7 separate regions of the Homo sapiens genome follow, and all the other regions are linked to region 2. The links are contacts of gene promoters, found by promoter capture Hi-C in blood cells and fetal thymus (Javierre and others, 2016). All regions are on one chromosome and are shown on one strand. Each heading gives the region's core, a stretch centred on a gene start or on the middle of the fragment in contact. The rest is flanking DNA. Distances are from core to core; before and after follow the strand shown. Region 1 overlaps LAMB1 (laminin subunit beta 1). Region 2 holds the start of COG5 (component of oligomeric golgi complex 5). Region 3 overlaps LOC105375444 (a long non-coding RNA gene). Region 4 overlaps HBP1 (HMG-box transcription factor 1). Region 5 overlaps COG5 (component of oligomeric golgi complex 5). Region 6 overlaps HBP1 (HMG-box transcription factor 1). Region 7 holds the start of LOC105375445 (a long non-coding RNA gene).

Region 1 (2,700 bases), core at 58-2,557, 360 kb after region 2:
GGGTCTTGCTATATTTCCCAGGCTGGAGTGCAGTGACTGTTTGTTTACAGGCATGATCATAGTGCACTATAGTCTCAAACTCTTGGCCTTAAGTGATCCTCTCACCTCCACCTCCCAAGTGGCTGGGACTACAGGCACACACTGCTGCACCTGGCTTTCAAAACAATAATTTCTACAGTCACTGACATAATATTCACTAAAATATTAACAGCAAACTGAGAAAATGGAAAAACCTAGAGATCGAAACATCAAAATATTTATAGTCTGGTGGGAAAACATAATTTTTCTAAACTTGAACAAATAGCCTGAAGAAAAAGTCTTATTGATACTCGAAATTTAAGGAGGAAAATGGACAGAATTATTGGCCTTCATTTAACTGACAGCAATAGAATAGGGGAACACAGGTTTTTACCAACTAATGGTAAGAAAAGCATGTTGAAAATTCATCTTCCCAGGTTTTAAACACATGGAGGATTGGCCTGAGAAGGCTGACAATGCTGGGTATGGGAGCATTTAATTTCAAAGTATATTCTGAGAACCTGTATAGGGATTAGATAACTCATCAATTTTCTTCATTTTTTAAAAACTCGTAAAATTGGAACGAAAACATTAACTTTCTGAGAAACAAAAGAATTTAATGGAATTATGTTTGCATTACTTCTTTTAAGAGATAAAGAGGATTTTTAGAGCAAGGTGCTAGATCCCTATGAAAAATTCGTAATGAGTACTTTTAATATCTGGTAGTCACAGTATATTTCTTATAAAAAACATTAAGTTTTCCATGCATTCTAAACAGAACAGATTGTTTAGCTATAAGTGCTCTATTAGGTTTCTCTAGAATTGGGTATTGAAAGCAGACTGACTGTTCTCCCATAGTTTCCAAAACTACTATATAGTAAAATGTTTGATGACCAAAATCTTGAGACATTGGCCTTCTTAACCAGATAAGCTGCTTTATAACATCAGGACAGTTTTCTAAAATTATTATACTTCATACTACTGAACAGAGTATATGCTGTTTCCTCAATGAATAGGAGTGCTTTTTTTTTTTTTGAGATGGAGTCTCTGTTGCCCAGACTGGAGTACAGTGGTGTGATCTCAGCTCATTGCAACCTCGACCTCCCCGGTTCAAGCAATTCTCCTGCCTTAGCCTCCCAGGTAGCTGGGACTACAGGCACACACCACTATGCCCAGCTAACTTTTGTATCTTTAGTAGAGAAGGGGTTTTGCCATGTTGGCCACGCTGGTCTTGAACTACTGACCTCAAATGACCCACCCACCTCGGCCTCCCAAAATGCTGGAATTACAGGCGTGAGCCACCATGCCCGCCCAAGAATAGAAGTTTTTATCTTTCTCAGACTTTGTGGGGGAGAAAATGAGATGGGACGTAATGGTCCAGTGTCTGAATCAGAGTCCTTTTATTCCTTGAAAACCTATCTCCACTTATTTTTAGCATCCATGCTAACGGAGTAGTTTAGATTTATTAAAGGAATCCTTTAATGTTGAGTTGTAAGAATTTCTGTTCATAGATAACAAATGTACTTTTCTGGTAAGTGTATATGTAGGTGTGTTCCCATTCATGTAATGATTGTGTATGCCTACCGAAGTTAACAGGTTCTGGGTTCCTTGAATGTCTTCATCTGCTTGTTTAATTGCCTTCTCTGCTGCGACCTGGGCCTTTTCTGCTTCTTCCAGAGCTTCCTTTACCATATCTGCAGTGACTTTAACATCTGTTGCACTTTTGCTGAGTAAAAAATAATGAGACAGTATATTGTTGCTGAACATGAAAAAAGTACTCTCAGTGTTCTTTTCTTTAAAGAATAGCCTTCCTGAAATGACCCAGAGAGACTCGCATAGGTCCTTCTTAGAAGTTTCATTGGTTAAAGAGATACTTTTTACTCCATGATAGATACACAAAATAAGCCCCTTAGATGCCATGTCTTTAGATACCTTGCTCTTTTAGCTTCTTCTAACAACATCTCAGCTCTGGCAATGTCAGCAGCACTATGCTGAAGAATAACCTCTACTTGAGAAAGGCTTTCAACTCGTTCACGTATATCTTCTGTCAAGTTCTGTAACTGCTGTGGGGTGCTAGGCATCTCCATTTTCAATACTTCATTAGCAACTGCTTCAATGCTGTCCAAATCAGCACTATCCTCTGTGAAAAGCAAAGATGTCCCCAAAAAGAGGTGAAAAGAATAGATGGTTCATTCATTCAACCACTTACTGGTCATCTACTATGGACTAGCATGGTGGGGTTACACACCAAGAGACACTAACTTCCTGTTTAAGAGTTTATAATCTATCTGGGATTTTGAGGGGAGATGAGACCTACACACACAAAAAAGTAACTGCAGACAATTGAGTACTACTAGAATTTGTTTTAGGCTGGGTAGTGAGGGAAACCTTCGTGGAAGATGAGGAGCTGATCAGATTTTAAGGGATAATAGAATTTGAAAGAAGAAAGGACAATTCCAGATGGGGAGACAGGAACGGCAGAGTATGTTACGGGAAAGTATAGCAGAGTGAATCTGAACATTGTGGAAAACCATAGAGGGCCAGAGCTTAAAGCTGAGACTTAAAGGCAATGAAATCTTTTAATTGAGGTTGGACGAATAGCTCAGAAACTTGTGAATGCAGATATGGAGATTTGATATTTCCTACAAATGATCTAGATTCAGGAAATTATAGAAAGGGAGA
Region 2 (2,742 bases), core at 19-2,518:
TTTTAGACAGAGACCCGGTCCTAGAGTTTCCAACATGAAATAGTTCAGAAAACATCATTGCTTTTGACAAAAGTACATAAATTATCATGAAAAGGCACGTAATTCAGGATGACAATAAAATATTTAACAGTCAGAGAAAATAAACAATAATTTGGAACTTTATTTCATTTATTACCCACTTCGGTCTTCAAATGTGTGCATGTGCTTCTAACTGCGATGATGAATTTAAAAAACATTCTGCACCTACTGTATGCAAGATACTGCTATTCACACTGTGGGATATTAAAAAAAGTTTGCAATACAGAAGAGATTAAAACAAGTATACAAATGATTTTAGTACAAGGTAGAATGCGATGGCCACTAGAGAAAAAATTAAGAACAGGTGAGAAGGGCTTTATTTTTATGCTTATAAATGTGAACTTTATTCTGAAGGATAAGAGATTCGGGACATGGTAACTGGATTGACACAACTGAATATGCTTTTCAAGTATATTATATCTAACTTTTCTTATTTTGGGCAACTTCTCTCCAAACTGACTAGCAATAAAATCTGACTGCTAGATTCTGTACAAATGGTTAATCCCAACCTGAACAAATGTCTCAAACCCTCCCCCACGTGTCACTGTAGATAACTGCCTCATAAAGGAGGAAAAAAAAAACCAGCCTGTAAGAGGGGTCACCTGTACAGTCCATTTGTTAAAGGAGTAAGCGTTTCCAGCTCTACTTTAAAACAAGGCCCTATTTCATTATGCGTCTGCCGTCTGTTCTAGAGCTTACACTTTTGAAGAGCTCGAACGCTACACCCCTTCGTCAAGAACTGCGGCAGCAGCCGGTGGCTGCCAACGCGGTCCACAGGGTTTGGGCTCCCGAAACTTCAGGGAAGCTGGAGGCATGGGGGGGGGGGGGGTCGAGTTGAAATGAGGAACACACAGAAACCAAGTGTCCCCAAGACTCCAGAAAAGAGGGAGCCAGTCCCAGAGTAAATAGGTTGGCTAGAACAGTACCCAAGCCAGGGGGCCGGGCGGAGGGGAGTGGTCACGTCCAGACTGGAAAACTTTCTGCAAAGCAACGGGTTGGGTCCACCTCGCTGTCCAGGTGCGGAGCAGCGCAGACCCCCAACCCCACGACCTGGTCAGACCCCGTCTCCTTACCGTCCTGCAGAAGTTCCCGGACTGTAGCTGCAGCCGCTCCAGAGCCTCGAGCTCCGAGGCCAGCTACAGCGACGCTGCCGCCGCCACCTTCCATGTTGGCAGGTGCCGGGTTGATGTCGTCAGCAGCAGAACGGCTCCGCCCAGGTGGTGACGCAGAATCCCGGCGCCGCCCGCCCACCCAGCCCATGGCTCCAGGCCCACCTGGCGAACTGACTCTCAGCCCGCGCCTGGGCTAAGCCTGGCTAGGAGCCGCGCAGGTACTCGAGCAGTGGGCGCCCAGGGTCCGAGTGCTCTGCGCCCAGCGCACCGAGGGAGCCAAGGCCGTCGGGCCGGCGCTTTCAGCTGTCTCTCGCAGCAGCTCAGGGCCGCGCCCCCTGGGCTGGCGTCGTGCCCTAGCCAAGGAGAAGGTGGGCACCGGAACGTGGCCGCAGCGCTTATCTGTGAAGCAAGTATTAAACCTCAGAACAGGGGCCGCGCGGCGTAAGGCAGGAGAGCAGAGCGGAGGTTTCAGGGAGCTTCGTTTGCCCTCCACACTCACAAGAGTCACGCGTTAGTTGCTACACAGCTTTATCTGTTCCACGCCTTGATTGGCACTCCTGGGGTAATAAAAGCCCGCAGGAAATGCTTGGGAAGAAAAGTTGCTGGGGATGAACAGTGAAGAGAATTAGGGAGAGTCGATGAAGAAGGAAGTCTGAACCATAAAAGGACCAATAAAACTCACTGTCTCTACCCTCCTTCCTTCCCATGAGACCTTTGACCTTTTGCCTTTTCTACTTCTTCCTCAGTTTCAGTCACGTGCCAGACTTTTTCTTAATTACAAACTGATAGATGGTCCACATCTCAACTAACAGTATTGACGCTGTAAGAGCATCAGGTTGGTTCCCATTGTATCTTCTTTACTAATACGTTCGCGTTTTTGACCTAGATTTCTTTCTTCTAAGATAAATACTGATAAATTAACAGGGTCAGGCAACCACAAGTATGCAAGACAGTCTTAAGCTTCTTCGCAAAAAGAAGCTGGAAGATGACTTTTTCATTTTGTACAGTAGGTATGTATCCAGGAAACCAATTTTATCCAGTTCCAGAGCTACGTGGTTTTCTACATTCTGTTTCAAAAAGGTGCTATTACTTATCCTGTGCTTATCGCTGTTCTAAGTATTTTATAACTCAATGCATTTCATACTCATAACACCTCAGGTAAGCAAGTCTTATGCTACACTGCATTATGCTCTCTTTGTCTCAGAGGATTTTCCCTAGTATGTAAGATCTTAGTCATGATGGGAATAGGGGTGATTCATTCATTACTTGTGAATTAGGAATTGTTTTTCCTTCCTTGGCTTTATTCCCCCCAGTGGAAGATTTTAGAAGAGTGAGTAATATTCATTCATACAGCGAAAGTTTTGACCCCTCTACTCTGCATGCTCTCATGAGTTTACAAACATAAGACTCAATCCATATTCTAAAAGGAGTTAATAGGTAAGGTAGGAACCCATTTAAACAAACAATTGTACCAGGTGCTTTGGAATCTTTGGATTTACTTATTCCAGTAATTCCAAGCTTAGCTGCACATTGAAATCACCTGAAGAGCTTT
Region 3 (2,700 bases), core at 80-2,579, 290 kb after region 2:
TCATATGTATTACCTGAAAGAAAAACCTGAGATCAGCAGAAGATCCTCAGAGCAGACAAAAATTTTTCTTAAAAACAACAAGACAAGTGAAAAACAGGACAAGGGTGGGGACAGGACAACAGCAGGCTGCACCCAGAGAGTGCACCCAGGTCATCGGCTGTTCTTCATTTCTGACTTCCTGCTGGCTGTCCTGTGAGGTTGAGGTTACGTGGTTAGAGAAAGCCGGTTACTTGTTTCAAAACAAACAAAGTCCTCAAATCCTTTGAACAGCTAAAGGAATAGAGCACTCCTTGAATATGTATTCTTTCATATCCTCTGAACAGATCTTTATTTACAAGGAAGGCTGGTCTTGGCTGGAAAAATGGTAGTCAGATGTAGATCAAAATGATAATCTCAGAACACAGCACCAAGTGTCTTTTGCATGGGCCATGGGACTTAATGTCTTGATAGAACAGAGGATGTCAAGGAGAAAAAACTGAAGGCCACAAGAAAATGTGAATTTTTTAAATAGTTTACTCTGGTTGGAGGTTTGCCATATTCCTGACTCAACTTTATAATGTTTCCCATTTCTAAGCCAAATGGCTCAGAAGTGTGGCTGGGGTGTGACCTTGACCAGGTACAACCATGGCAATGAGTCTCTATTCTTTTTACTTTGGAATCCAACCAACACGTTAAAGCTCTTTGAATGTGGGTATCATATGAGTCAGTGCATGTGTGCTGACTGCCTGCTGTCCTCATAACACAAAGTGGAGTGGGGGCTATGGAGGCTACTGGATTATTTCCGTCAGTGTATACAGCAAAACTAAATTAATCCCCAAGTTTAGGCTTTTTGACCTCGAGTATCAAGACTAGTTTACTTGCATTGTGCAAATTAGTCACCAACCTACTTTGTATTATAGAGAGTTTTAAACTTTTGTGTATTTCTCCAGATTTGCATCAATGAGATTTTTGAAGTCAGCTTTTAAAATAAATACTAAAATGTAACTGCTTTTGGGATTCTTTTTCTTTATCCACCACACCACGAAAGTAGTAAGTTCCAACACTTCTCACCATTTGCAGTGCCACAATCTGGTTCAAGTCACCGTCAGCTCCCCCTTCAACACTGAGGAAGCCTCCAGGCCCATCTCCTGCCTCCAGTCTTATCCCACTCTCCTCCCTGTCAAGCACAGTCCATACAACACGCAGCAGGCAGAGGTATCTTTACCAGGTGTAAATCAGGTTACATAACTCTCTGGTTTAAAACTCTCCAAGGCTTCCTCTTACAACTAGAGAAAAACTTACCCTCCAGTCTTGGCCTACCAAACCCGCCTGATTGGGCTCCTTCATGGCTCTCCCAAGTGACCCACAACTTGCTTCCTGGTCCTCAGCACTCCAGTCCCTTCAGCTTTCTATCTCTTGAACGAATGCACCAAGCTCAGCCCTGCTCTGGGCCTTTGCACTTGTTCCTCCTTCTGCTGCGTGCCTCTTGCCTAGATCTTTGCACGGCTGTCCCCCTCTCATTATCTGGGTCTCAATTCACATCCACTCAACAAACCACTCTAGATAAATCAGCACTCTCTGCCCACTTCTTTTTTTTGTTGAGATGGAGTCTTGCTTGTCACCCAGGCTGGAATGCGGTGGTGCAATCTCGGCTCACTGCAACCTCTGCCTCCCGGGTTCAAGTGATTCTCCTGCCTCAGGCTCTGGAGTAGCTGGGACTACAGGCGCCCGCCACCACGCCCAGCTAATTTTTTGTGTTTTCAGTAGAGACGGGGTTTCACCGTGTTGGCCAGGATGGTCCGGATCTCCTGACCTCGTGATCTGCCCACCTCGGCCTCCCAAAGTGCTGGGATTACAGGCGTGACCCACTGCACCCGGCCTCTCTGCCCATTTCTACCACTCTCTCATTATCCTATTAGAGCCACGTCTGGCACTTAGCAGGACTTAAAACTAAATTATTTTAAAGCCCTGTTTATGTGTTTTTTGCTTGTTTTCCCCCAACCCACAAACCAGCCCAATATGAGAACATGAGCTCATTGAAGGCAGGAACTCAGATCCTTGCGGTCCCTGCTGTTCCCACTCCTGTCCCCCCATACCTGGAGCAGTACCCAGCCTAATACATATTTATTGACTATCTGATAACTTAACAAATTTAACATTCAGTAAAATTTACCCGATAAATGAACGAATGATTAGGGAACCACATGCATGACTCTCAACTACATAGTGTAAAGTTCCACCTACATGGCATTCTGGAAAAGACAAAACCATAGGGATAAAAAATAGATCAGTAGTTACCAGAAACTGGGTTTGGGATGTTAAGGGCTGACTATAAAGGGACATAAGGGAACTTTTTTGGATGATGGAACCCTTCTATATTTTGTTTCTGATGGCAGTTTCGTGTTAAAAATCATAGAATTGGTTGGCTAAACAGGATAAATTGTGTGTACGCAAGTTATACCTCAACAAACTGGATTTTATTTAATTGCCTGACAGATCTTTCACTTACCCTGGAATAAGCACCGAATGGTTTGTAGAAACGCTCTCATATTGGCCCTTTGTGAACAATCTCCATGTACACATATTCTGAGTGCAGAAACCCCGGGAGCAGCATGGTGGAGTAGAAAAGTATGAGCTGGGCATTAGACGGGCTGGGGTTTGAGTTTTGGCTTTGTTGCTTGTGTACTTCAGTTAGGATTTCTTAGTTGCAAGCAGCCCAGA
Region 4 (2,700 bases), core at 46-2,545, 380 kb before region 2:
TTAAATAAAAGTATATACAATGCCATTTTTCCTCAGCAGAAAAGACTTTTTTTTATAATTCAAGATATTAATCTTTTGGGATTGAAATGTGATTTAGTGCTGAGTATTCAGTTGTAGGCCAAGATGTTAAGGAGTCATCCGGGTCTAAAGGATTTGAGGGAGCTATAAATGGCAGTGTATGATTAAGTTAAAATCTAACACTGTGGCCGGGCGTGGTGGCTCACGCCTGTAATCCCAGCACTCTGGGAGGCCCAGGTGGGCGGATATCTTGAGGTCAGGAGTTCAAGACCAGCCTGGCCAACATGACGAAACCCCATCTCTACTAAAAATACAAAAATTAGCTCGGCGTGGTGGCATGTGCCTGTAATCCCCCCTACTTAGGTGGCTGAGGCGGGAGAATCGCTTGAACCCAGGAGGTGGAGTTTGCAGTGAGCCGAGATCACGCCACTGCACTGCAGTCTGGGTGACAGAGTGTGACTATGTCTCAAAAAAAAAACAAAACAACATTGTCATGTCTCTGATTTATTTTAGGTTTGTGTACTGCCCAAATTGCATGGCTTGACATCATTTCTTAATGTCGTTTTTATTTTAAGTCAGAGCACCATAACATGGTGTGGGAAGTGAAGACAAATCAGATGCCTAATGCAGTACAGAAACTCCTGTTGGTGATGGACAAGAGAGCCTCAGGAATGAATGACTCATTGGAGTTGCTGCAGTGTAATGAGAATTTGCCATCTTCACCTGGATATAACTCCTGTGATGAACACATGGAGCTTGGTAAGCAAAATTAAAAGTTATATAGAAATCTCACTAAGATTCAGATAAATTTTTCTACTTAGCCCGCTTCTCCACCAACCTTGACTGGCTAGAAAGGGATATGAAGTATTTGTATATTAGGAATTTTCAGCATTCTTTTATTGCTTTTAAAATACTACTTAAAACCAACATGAGTTGGGCTATTTATGGTTATTGTAGACACTCATTTACAGATTGTTAAATTAAACTACTTTACTTTGTGTGTAAAGATTGGACCCCACTCGTGGCTTTTCGAAAGATGCTACTTTTGAAATATACTTGAGAGAGCTCAGTAAAATATGCTTAGCCACTCTTCGTGGCAGATTTGCTGGTATGATGTGGAAATTACAGTGGACCCTTGAAACTTGAGGATCTGACATTTATGGTTGTTACTATTGCTAAACTACTCCTGGAGATATGTGACCTTTAGAAATGTGTAAGTTTGTTGAGGTGTGTTTTTGAATTGTATTGCTTCAAGGCTGGTGTTCAGGAGTATGGAGCTAATGAGTCACCTTGGCTTGCTGCCCAGCTTTTCAGCTTGGCTTTGCCCCCATTTAATATATGGGGGTTTCCTTCATGTTTATAAAAACCCTGGGGAGAAGATACAGCTGTCTTAATTTTACAAATGATGAAATGGAGGAGATTATGTACTATGGTAATGTTTGGAAATTTAGAGATCTTAAGCTCTTGGGACACATAACCTGCTTGAATGCCAAGGATTTTCTGGACCCTAGTATTTATTGAGTACTGGTTACTTTTGAGCAAGGAGTGCCATTTTAATCAGGTAGTTGATCTTCCTCAGTTTTTGGTTTAAGGAGGAACTCAGAAACTTAGGGCCGAGGGGAGTATAAATAACATGCCCCTTCCACCTATGACTTCGTTTAAAAAGTAATTTCCTGAACTTCAGAAACAGAAATGAACCCTTTGCAGTAAATAAATGTTGGTCAAAGGCAGTGAGGGAAAGGAAATAGCTATATCAGCATGAAAATTGTAGGGTAGAATTATTTTAAATTAGTGTGATGTTCTAGAACTCCTTGGCTCCTTCATGACTCCATGAAAGAAGTCAGTTTTTACAAATGGATATCCCGAGTCAGTGCTTCTAATTAAAACATTTCAGTTTGGCTTGGCATGATGGTTCACGCTAGTAATCGCAGCACTTTGGGAGGACAAGGTGGGAGGAGTTCAGGACCAGCCTGGTCAACGTAGTGAGATATCATCTCTACAAAAATTTTCTTTAAAAATTAGCTGGGCATGGTGGGTACATGCCTGTAGTCCTAGCTACTTGAGAGGCAGAGGCGTGAGGATCATTTGAGCCCAGGGGTCCAAGGCTGCAGTGAGCTATAATTGTACCACTGCACTCCAGCCTGGGCAACAGAGTAAGACCCTATCTCAAAAAAAAATTTTTTTTTTTTTAAGATAGGACATTTCGGTTTTAGTAGACTATTCTGGAATATTTGCCTGAATAGGAGTTATACATACTTTTATAGTGACATTTAGGAGACTAGAAATTTTCTTGACTTGTATATTTAAGGGACCCAATAGGTTTGTGGAGTTTGTAGGTATGTGTTTCGTGGAGAGTTTTTTTTTTTAAGCCTTCAAGATGCTTTTTCTTCCCTACTACATACACACATACATACAGACATATATATGATTTTTTAAAAGAATATATATATAATTTTTTTTAAGAATTCAGTATTTTGGAATTCATGTTCCTTATAGTGCTTGGTGTGTGCATGAGTGGTAGCTGGGTAATAGTTCCAGTCATCTTATGGGGAGCTGAAAGGGTATCATGAATTGCCTTTTAGGAATGCACTTATAGGAAAAAATAACCGATAAATAACCAGTAAATATTAACAAGTTCAGAATTTATTAGTAAAAAGAAATACTTTAACACAGAGTTGTGTA
Region 5 (2,700 bases), core at 7-2,506, 340 kb before region 2:
AATTAGGTTATTAGAATAAAGATGGCTCTGTACTGATTTACTCCTCTCTAGGAAGGAATTTGGTAGGACCCGCCACATGGGTAAGCTTTCTCAAGTCAATTCTCTTTACATGACAACTGCAAAGAAGCTGGCAGGGCCAGGGCTTTCCCAACAATGGTGCGGGGCAGAGGCCGCAGCACATGCTCACATCTCTCTTCTTCTCATCTGATAGGACTGAAAACATTCTTTGTAGACCAGGGCTGGATTTGAACCCCTTAATATATTATACTTCTGTTTTATTTCTTGATCCAGTTAATCCTAATCCTACGCTTTTTATAAAATAGTTGTATCAGTCCCATCAAACAACTGAGAAAGCACTAGGATTAATTCAGTAGATTTCTGTAGATTCAATATAAATATAGAAATATAATGGTATATAGAAAAATACCTCTGTTGGAATTTTTCAATTAACTCAAGCTATGAAGGATACTCCATAGGCAAGAAACAATTATTCTTATGTGCCTGAGGCCTTGGGAGCTAAGACGTCATCTGCAGGAGGAACCTCAGAGATACCAGAATCCCAAGAGAAAAGGGTATAAATCTTCACAGTTTGTGGAAAGGAAAAAACTTGGCTCCCTGTCACTAGAGCAACTAAAGTTCAAGAGTTAAGGGCCTCGTGAGAAATCTGAGAAATGGCTGGATGCAGGCCATGAGTGGGTCATTAAACTAATTTAGTGGGTTAAAATAATCAAATGAAATAGAAATGTTAGAGGTTATCACATGAAGTAAGGGTACTTACTATTTCATGAACCATACATATGGGTGTCCATGTATATGTATATAGATTTGAGTGTGTTCATGTGTTTGCATACAAGTATATGCCAAATATCAATAGAAAGTATCTTTTACTGTGGGTCATGGTCAAAAGTTTGAAAACTGTTACGCCATAAGAAGCTAGATATAAAAAAAAAAGTAGAACTATTAAAATTATACATTGATCAAGCGATTCTTGATTCTATAAATAGGTATTAGAAGGTGTCACCCAAACTTTAAATGTTCCTTTAGAGATTCTTTCTCTCATGTGAGAATTGGAAAGGGTTGGCAGAAAATTTCCATCTTAAATGGCTTAAAATAGATGTCTTAAGTGAAACTTATCCTCAGACCTTGTATCTCCATACTATGACACAACTTTAAGAGTGCTTACATGAAGGTCATCCTGCCTCAGCAAACAGGAAACTTAGCACTATTTTTTTTTGGGGCGGGGGGTGTGGGTGGTGGGCGGTAAAGGGTCTCAGTCTGTCACCAAGGCTGCAGTGCAGTGGCACAATCTCGACTCACTGTAACCTCCAGCTCCCGGGTTAAAGTGATTCTCCCACCTCAGCCTTCCAAGTAGCTGGGACTACAGATGTGTGCTGCCATGCCTGGCTAATTTTTGTACTTTTTGGTAGAGATGGGGTTTCACCATGTTGGCCAGGCTGAATTAGCATTATTTTATACATGCACGTGCAATAATGCAATAAACAACTAAACATGGGACTGGGGCTATAAAAAATAATAGCCTAGGCCAGGTGTGGTGGCTTACACCTGCCATACTTGTAATCCCAGCAGTCTGGGGGGCTGAGGCGGGCAGATAGCTTGAGCTCAGAAATTCAAGACCAGGCTGGGCAACATGGTGAAACTTTGTTTCTACAAAAAAATATAAAAATTAGCTGGGCATGGTGGCACACACCTGTAGTCCCAGTTACTCAGGAGGCTGAGGCGGGAGGATCACTTGGGCATGCAAGGTGGAGGTTGCAGTAAGCTGAGATGGAGATCGCACCACTGCACTCTAACCTGGGTGACAGAGTGACACCCGGTCTCAAAAAAAAAAAAAAAAAAAGCCAAATCTTCCTATAGCAATGCTAAATCACAGCTTTTCTCATACCTTTTTCAATAACTAGATGGTTAATATCCTCCAGTATGTTAACTGACTCAGCCAGCCAGGGCAACATTTTATTACCCAGCTAGGATTGCTGTGTTACCATCTTACTCAAGAGTAAATGACTGTACAGGGGTTTTAGTAAAGTAACTTTTATGGTACAAACAGATGACCAATGGATTGGCAACCTCAGGACCTCATCATCCTTCAACTCGCCCATGTTTGGTAGTGCAGAACTCTATAGCTTCAACAAAATACTTAAACAGTTTTAAAAAGATTTGAGCTGATACAAAGAAGGTATCTGAAAGCATTTGTGATCTCACTTTAAGTTTTCCTAAAACTCATCTCTGTACAGATGGGCAGTGATCTTTCATTTGAGAAAAAATAAAATCCAGACTCTTGTGTTGCCATTAAAAAAAAAAAAAGGCCTGTGCTAATTACAAACAGGCGAGGTAAAATATACGGATTCCCTCTCAATCAACAATATTGGATTCTTATATTTCTTATATTCCACCAGAAGTTTCTACTACCAAAGCTTGATGACAGAAGAGAGCAAAGCGATCATTTAAAGGACATACTGCTTATTGATCCTCTAGTTTCCAGTACTGAGTTGGTTTTTAGAAAGCTGCATACCTGTACTCTGTTATCTTATCCTTATTGAGAAATCTTCAACCATTATGCACTTGGATATTATGGACAGTTTATATAAAGGCCTCCCATCTGGTATGCTGTGGTCACAAAATATTATGTTGATCCCCTCAGCCCTTAGGGTTGGCCACCTTTTTAAATGAAAATATCTTCTT
Region 6 (2,700 bases), core at 197-2,696, 360 kb before region 2:
CTGATCTTTTTATAGGATCTCTAAATCAGGTTATACCCTTTATTGCTCAAAAATCTTTTTTTTTTTTATGAGATGGAATCTTGCTCTGTCACGCAGGCTGTAGTGCCAGTGGTGTGATCTCGGCTCATTGCAACTGCTGCCTCCTAGGTTGAAGTGATTCTCCTGCCTCAGCCTCTGAGCAGCTTGAACTATAGGCATGCACCACCACACCTGGCTAATTTTTTGTAGTTTTAGTAGAGATGGGGTTTCACCTTGTTGGCTAGGCTGGTCTCGAACTCCTGATCTCAGGTGATCTGCCCACCTCTGCCTCCCAAAGTGCTGGGATTACATATGTGAGCCACCGTGCCCAGCCAAATCTGGTATTTTCTTTGCATTTTAGCATTGCTCCCATGTGATATACTGGTAATCAATCATCTAACATTGAGGGCCATCAGATATCACCTATCTCTAAACTGAATGGGATAAATCATAATTTTGAAATTGGATTCTTCACTGTCTCTAATAAAGCTGCCTTAATTCAATGAATAAATTCTCATTTGGAGGCAAATTCTGAGGGAATGGAGACTAGAACAGGTCAGAGACATGTAGCTCATTTTAAGTTGCTATAAATGTCCATCTGGATGTAACATTCACTGCAGAAATAATCTTTAGATGTGTATATTTTACATTTGTTAGGGAACACAGAGTATAGTCTACAGCATTGTGTACATTTCATTACCTGTCATCTTTTAGCTTAAAATAATAAATGTTTCGCAAGTGCCACCCCCTTCAAAAACATCTCATGTTCTTTCCTACTGTGGATGACTGAGATGGTGTGAATATTTATTGATTTGTTTAAATGTGTCAACCATTATATGGTACCTGTAACCCAAGACTAAAAGTTTTTTTTTTAATGGGTTCTGCAAATGGAATATAAAAATTGGTTATCATTTTATTATTTATTTTTGAGACAGAGTCTCATTCTGTTCCCCAGGCTGGAGTGCAGTGGCGGGATATCGGCTCACTGCAACCTCTGCCTCCCGGGTTCAGGCGATTCTAGTGCCTCAGCCTCCCCAGTAGCTGTGATTACAGGCGTGTGCCATCACACCTGGCAAATAGTAGAGATGGGGTGACGGGGTTTCACCATGTCGGCCAGGCTGGTCTTGAACTCGTGGCCTCAAGTGATCTGCCCGCCTTGGCCTCCAAAAGTGCTGGGATTACAGGCATGAGTCACAACGTCCAGCCCAAAAATTGGTTTATAATTAAGGAAAATGCAGCACAATGTTTAACTGCATTAAGTTATTGGATAAAAAGACAAATACACTTGTAGGAGAGCTTCTGTGGTTTACTGTTCGAAGGCACAAATGCCTGTTGCTTTGGCTTCCATATCAGTCAGTATAAAAATCACTTGATGTGCTTTGTGCAAAATTTCCAGGACCTTATGTTTTATATGGGTGTCATGAAGTGAATGGCTGAAAGCTCTTCATAGAAGGAAGGTGGTTTACATCTGTGTGCCTAGGTGAGACTGTTTTAGTAGGTTTCATAGCAGAGTAACAAACAGGAGAAAACAGCTTCTAATATTTGTCATGATGTAGTCTTATCAGTTTAACTTCTTAGCATTTTGAGTTTATCCAGTTTTCTCAAGTAATAAAAAATACTGTCTAAAGGTTTATTTGGTTTTCTCTTGAGAGAGAAATAGTAAGATATGCATAGTTAATTCTACACTTCCACTATGATTGAATGAGAAAAGACCTTTATCAAAACTATTTGATAGGTTACGGGCACAAATAGATTAGCTTTTAGTACAAGTTGAATACTTCATGCTGCTGATACGGAACAATGGATTATTTGATTCGGGATTTTACTGGAAATGAGCATTATGGCCTTGACCTTTTCCCATCTCTGTGATAGACAAGATTTTCATCTTTTTTAACTTCACATTTTTCTCCTGAAGTAGCAGCACTTGACATGAGATTTATGAAAAATGTGTGCTTTCAGCATTGTGTAAATATTTATTTTACAGAGCCATAAGTGTGATCCTTGGTGACAGGTGGAAGAAAATGAAGAATGAAGAGAGAAGAATGTACACATTAGAAGCAAAGGCTTTGGCTGAAGAACAGAAACGTTTAAATCCTGACTGTTGGAAGAGGAAAAGAACCAATTCAGTATGTTTCAATAAATAGTGTTTAAAATTATCTTGCCTTATCCGTGCAGGTGTACTGGCATGTTGGAGCAGTTGTTACAACCTTTAAGAGGTTGTGTTGATGCTGTCTCTAGCATTTTTATACTTCAAAACCTAATAATGTTATCACATCATCATATAAAGACTGCCTTTCCTCAAGGGTCATTTACTCTCATAGCATGGCAAGTCGAAATCTCAGGCAAACTTCAAAAGAATGTTTGTTCTAAACATTGAGTTGGAAAAATAATTTTGGAATGCAGTGTTTCTAGTTGGGTTGAAAGATAAGCATTATTAATCCATTAATATCACAGTAGAAAATTTCTCTAATAATTTTGGGATTGTCTCAACAGCTTTTTTTCCTTAATTGGTGAGGGACCAATAAGGCTGGAGGTGTTGGGGTATGTTAGCTGTCATTCATGGGGACTTGTGCCATTGGCACAGAATTTCTAGATTGAAAAATTTCAAGGAGGAGAAGAAATAGGCCCAGGAATGGTGGCAAACAAGTCTATATGATAAGCTATCTTGGATAGACTTGTTTC
Region 7 (2,765 bases), core at 190-2,689, 310 kb after region 2:
ATTACAGGCATGAGCCACTGTGCCCAGCCATCTTTATCTTTCTCTTTTTTATCCCCTACATCTAGTAAACCACTAGCCTTTTAACTGTGCATTCTTTACTGCCTCTTCAATTTCTTTTCTTCCCTCCACCTCTATGAACGTAGTTCAGGAATGTATCACTTGTTGCTTGGGTTACTTCAAGAAGTCTCTTTTCTAAGATAAGGAAAGCCTAGACTTTAATGCTACACTTTTGAGAGGGTGATGAGAAGACATTCCTTGTTTCTTTTTTACCCCAAACCAGGGAAAACTAGGCAATGAGGATATTACAGATCTCCCCAAACCAACAAACAGAAAATCTGCTTCCTTTGAACCAATACTCCTTTGAGCAGACCCTGACTTAGCTATCTCTTTTTTTTTTTTGGAGACAGAGTCTCACTCTGTCGCCCAGGCTGGAGTGCAATGGTGAAATCTCAGCTCACCGCAAGCTCCGCCTCCTGGGTTCAAGGGATTCTCCTGCCTCAGCCTCCTGAGTAGCTGGGACTACAGGCACGCACTACCACACCTGGCTAATTTTTGTATTTTTAGTAGAGATGGGGATTCACCATGTTGGTCAGGCTGGTCTTCAACTCCTGACCTTGTGATCCGCCCACCTGGGCCTCCCAAAGTGCTGGGATTACAGGCGTGAGCCACCATGCCCGGCCTATCTTTCCTTTTACCACCAAACATCATGTTTACATTTTCTGCCTATATTTCCTTATCACTCTGCTTTCAATCCCTTAAATTATGGCTTCTTTTTAACTGAAATTGGTTCACAAAGTTCATTCACTAATGCCAATGTACTGATTTAGGCATTTTTCTGTTACAGGCAATAGAAATTCTAACCAAAATTAGATTAAGCAAAAAGGAGAAGGTATCAGCTCATATAACTGGGGAGTCCAGAAACAGAAATAAGGACAGGCACAACATCATCCAGGACTCCGTATCACTGTGATGCCATTTCTCTCCTTGATTACCTCTAATTCCTTAGAGTTTGCTCCATCATAGGACCACGCATGGAGGCAAGGCAGTTGCAATGGCTTCAGTTTCTATATCCACTCAGATGGACATCTCAAAGGAACAAGGGTGTGTTTCATTCTTTCTCATTCTGTCCTAAGTCCCTAAACCGATTCCTGTGGCCATGGGAATGTGTTGCTCTGATTGGCCAGGCTTGAGTCACATCTCTACAGGGCAGACATGTCCAATAGAAATATAAGGGGAGCCATAAATGTGAGGCACAGATATAAGCCACATATGTAATCTTACATTTTCTGGTAGCCACACTTTAAAAAGTGAAAAAAAAGGTGAAATTAAATATAATGATACATTCTATTTAACCTAGTATATCCAAAATGTTATTCTTTCAGCATGTAATCAACATAAATGATGATTAAAATGTTTTATATCATTTCTTGTACCAAGTCATCAAAACTCATCATTTTAACAAGGCTTCCAACTGATGATGTGTTGGGGGGTGGAGGGCCTGTGAGACATACTTTGAGAAACACTAACCTACACTTTCATTTTTTCTGTGTTCCCAAAATTACCTTTAGAGTGCTCAGAGTACTGAGACATCTGCTGAAATATGCTGGAGCAATCCAGAGTGAAGCAGGGTTGTTACTGGATAGAGCAAGATAGGATCAGAGACGTTTAATATTGCTGCCATGTTGCCGCCATCTATTGGTTGTGTCACATATTACAGGTTCATAACCGAAAAAATGAAGCTGGTCATTTGTGGGCCCCTTTATACTTCTGGCAAGACACCTCCTCAACTGCATCCTGAAATGACTTTTCTTTAGAATTCTTATTTATTACAGAATACAGAAAAATCTTAATAGTTGTGCATTATGGATTATCAGGCCTACGTCTAACAGAATGTTGTTGTTGTTGTCAGCTACAGAACAGATAGATTTCCTTTAAATATAACCCTATTATCCTGTCAGCAATCCACTGTAAGTGACCTTGGTTTCTGTTTCTGCAGATTTTCTTCACCTTCTGAAGGCATTGACCAGAGAAAATTTCTTAACATCTCTGAGCCTTAGTTCCTTCAGCTATAAAATATAGGATAATAATGCTACCTTCTTCATAGCGTTATTGTGAAGATTAAATTGCATAGTGTTTATAAATTATTTGGCACAGTGCCTGATGTATATAAAGAACGCTGTCAATGTTATTGTTAAGAAGAATAACAAGTCTTAATGGAAATTTGAACAGTGACTGGAAATTTGATAACATTATGGAATTAAATTTTATTTTGTTTTTTTTAAATCCTTATATTAAAAAAATCCTTATCCTTTACAGATACACACTGAACTAGTTATAGGTGAAATTATATGACTACTGGGATTTGTCTCAAAATAAAATGGAAGGGAAGTGAGCAGTAAAGCAATATTGGCTATAATCTGATCATGGTTTAAACTCAGTGAAGGATTTATGAAGGTTTATTATGCTACTTTGTTTTGTGTATGTTTGAAATTTTCCATAAAATTTAAGCAAACAAACAAAATTGCCAGGCGCAATGGCTCACGCCTGTAATCCCAGTACTTTGGGAGGCCGAGGAGGGCGGATCACCTGAGGTCAGGAGTTCAAGACCAGCCTGGCCATCATAGTGAAATCCCGTCTCTACCAAAAATACAAAAATTAGCCGGGTGCTGTGGTGCGTGCCTGCCTGTAGTCCCAGCTACTTGGGAGGCTGAGGCAGGAAATTGCTTAAACCCAGGAGGCGGAAGTTGCAGTGAGCCGAGATTATA

What was found. Contacts are between HindIII fragments. The CHiCAGO score rates a contact against its expected background, and 5 or more counts as called.
Region 1: a contact is called between a fragment that was not itself captured here and the fragment with the promoter of COG5 in region 2, in 1 of 17 cell types (total CD4 T cells). The highest score is 5.5, in total CD4 T cells.
Region 3: a fragment that was not itself captured here is called in contact with the fragment with the promoter of COG5 in region 2 in 2 of 17 cell types (non-activated CD4 T cells and total CD8 T cells); the score reaches 6.6 in non-activated CD4 T cells.
Region 4: a fragment that was not itself captured here is called in contact with the fragment with the promoter of COG5 in region 2 in 1 of 17 cell types (fetal thymus); the score reaches 5.3 in fetal thymus.
Region 5: a contact is called between a fragment that was not itself captured here and the fragment with the promoter of COG5 in region 2, in 1 of 17 cell types (M1 macrophages). The highest score is 5.2, in M1 macrophages.
Region 6: a fragment that was not itself captured here is called in contact with the fragment with the promoter of COG5 in region 2 in 3 of 17 cell types (megakaryocytes, M2 macrophages and M1 macrophages); the score reaches 8.3 in megakaryocytes.
Region 7: a fragment that was not itself captured here is called in contact with the fragment with the promoter of COG5 in region 2 in 10 of 17 cell types (non-activated CD4 T cells, erythroblasts, naive CD8 T cells and 7 more); the score reaches 12.4 in non-activated CD4 T cells.

What each region holds. Positions count from the first base shown.
Region 1 is chr7:107,927,462-107,930,161 of GRCh38, forward strand. LAMB1 (laminin subunit beta 1) reads right to left here. Exons shown (of 34, transcript NM_002291.3): 30 at 1,951-2,158; 31 at 1,603-1,744. Among named protein-coding and RNA genes, the nearest start is that of DLD, 38 kb to the left of the region's middle. The HindIII fragment of the contact is 2,992 bases long and covers 1-2,700 here.
Region 2 is chr7:107,562,652-107,565,393 of GRCh38, forward strand. It overlaps COG5 (component of oligomeric golgi complex 5), which reads right to left and starts at 1,269. Exons shown (of 22, transcript NM_006348.5): 1 at 1,152-1,269. The coding sequence starts at 1,245. It overlaps DUS4L-BCAP29 (DUS4L-BCAP29 readthrough), which reads left to right and starts at 1,320. Exons shown (of 13, transcript NR_163941.2): 1 at 1,320-1,558; 2 at 1,937-2,025. DUS4L (dihydrouridine synthase 4 like) reads left to right here and starts at 1,320. Exons shown (of 8, transcript NM_181581.3): 1 at 1,320-1,558; 2 at 1,937-2,025. RefSeq lists silencers at 1,148-1,358, 1,397-1,496 and enhancers at 1,197-1,316, 1,847-2,742. The HindIII fragment of the contact is 2,647 bases long and covers 1-2,148 here.
Region 3 is chr7:107,857,104-107,859,803 of GRCh38, forward strand. LOC105375444 (a long non-coding RNA gene) reads right to left here. Exons shown (of 3, transcript XR_927850.3): 3 at 1-13. Among named protein-coding and RNA genes, the nearest start is that of DLD, 33 kb to the right of the region's middle. The HindIII fragment of the contact is 3,556 bases long and covers 1-2,700 here.
Region 4 is chr7:107,179,286-107,181,985 of GRCh38, forward strand. HBP1 (HMG-box transcription factor 1) reads left to right here. Exons shown (of 11, transcript NM_012257.4): 2 at 594-777. The coding sequence starts at 609. Among named protein-coding and RNA genes, the nearest start is that of HBP1, 12 kb to the left of the region's middle. The HindIII fragment of the contact is 5,152 bases long and covers 1-2,700 here.
Region 5 is chr7:107,226,468-107,229,167 of GRCh38, forward strand. The region is part of intron 19 of COG5 (component of oligomeric golgi complex 5); the gene reads right to left. The region is part of intron 2 of LOC124901721 (a long non-coding RNA gene); the gene reads left to right. Among named protein-coding and RNA genes, the nearest start is that of HBP1, 59 kb to the left of the region's middle. The HindIII fragment of the contact is 2,347 bases long and covers 84-2,430 here.
Region 6 is chr7:107,198,158-107,200,857 of GRCh38, forward strand. HBP1 (HMG-box transcription factor 1) reads left to right here. Exons shown (of 11, transcript NM_012257.4): 10 at 2,003-2,144. Among named protein-coding and RNA genes, the nearest start is that of HBP1, 31 kb to the left of the region's middle. The HindIII fragment of the contact is 8,021 bases long and covers 1-2,700 here.
Region 7 is chr7:107,873,129-107,875,893 of GRCh38, forward strand. It overlaps LOC105375445 (a long non-coding RNA gene), which reads right to left and starts at 1,107. Exons shown (of 3, transcript XR_927851.2): 1 at 993-1,107. The HindIII fragment of the contact is 5,783 bases long and covers 1-2,765 here.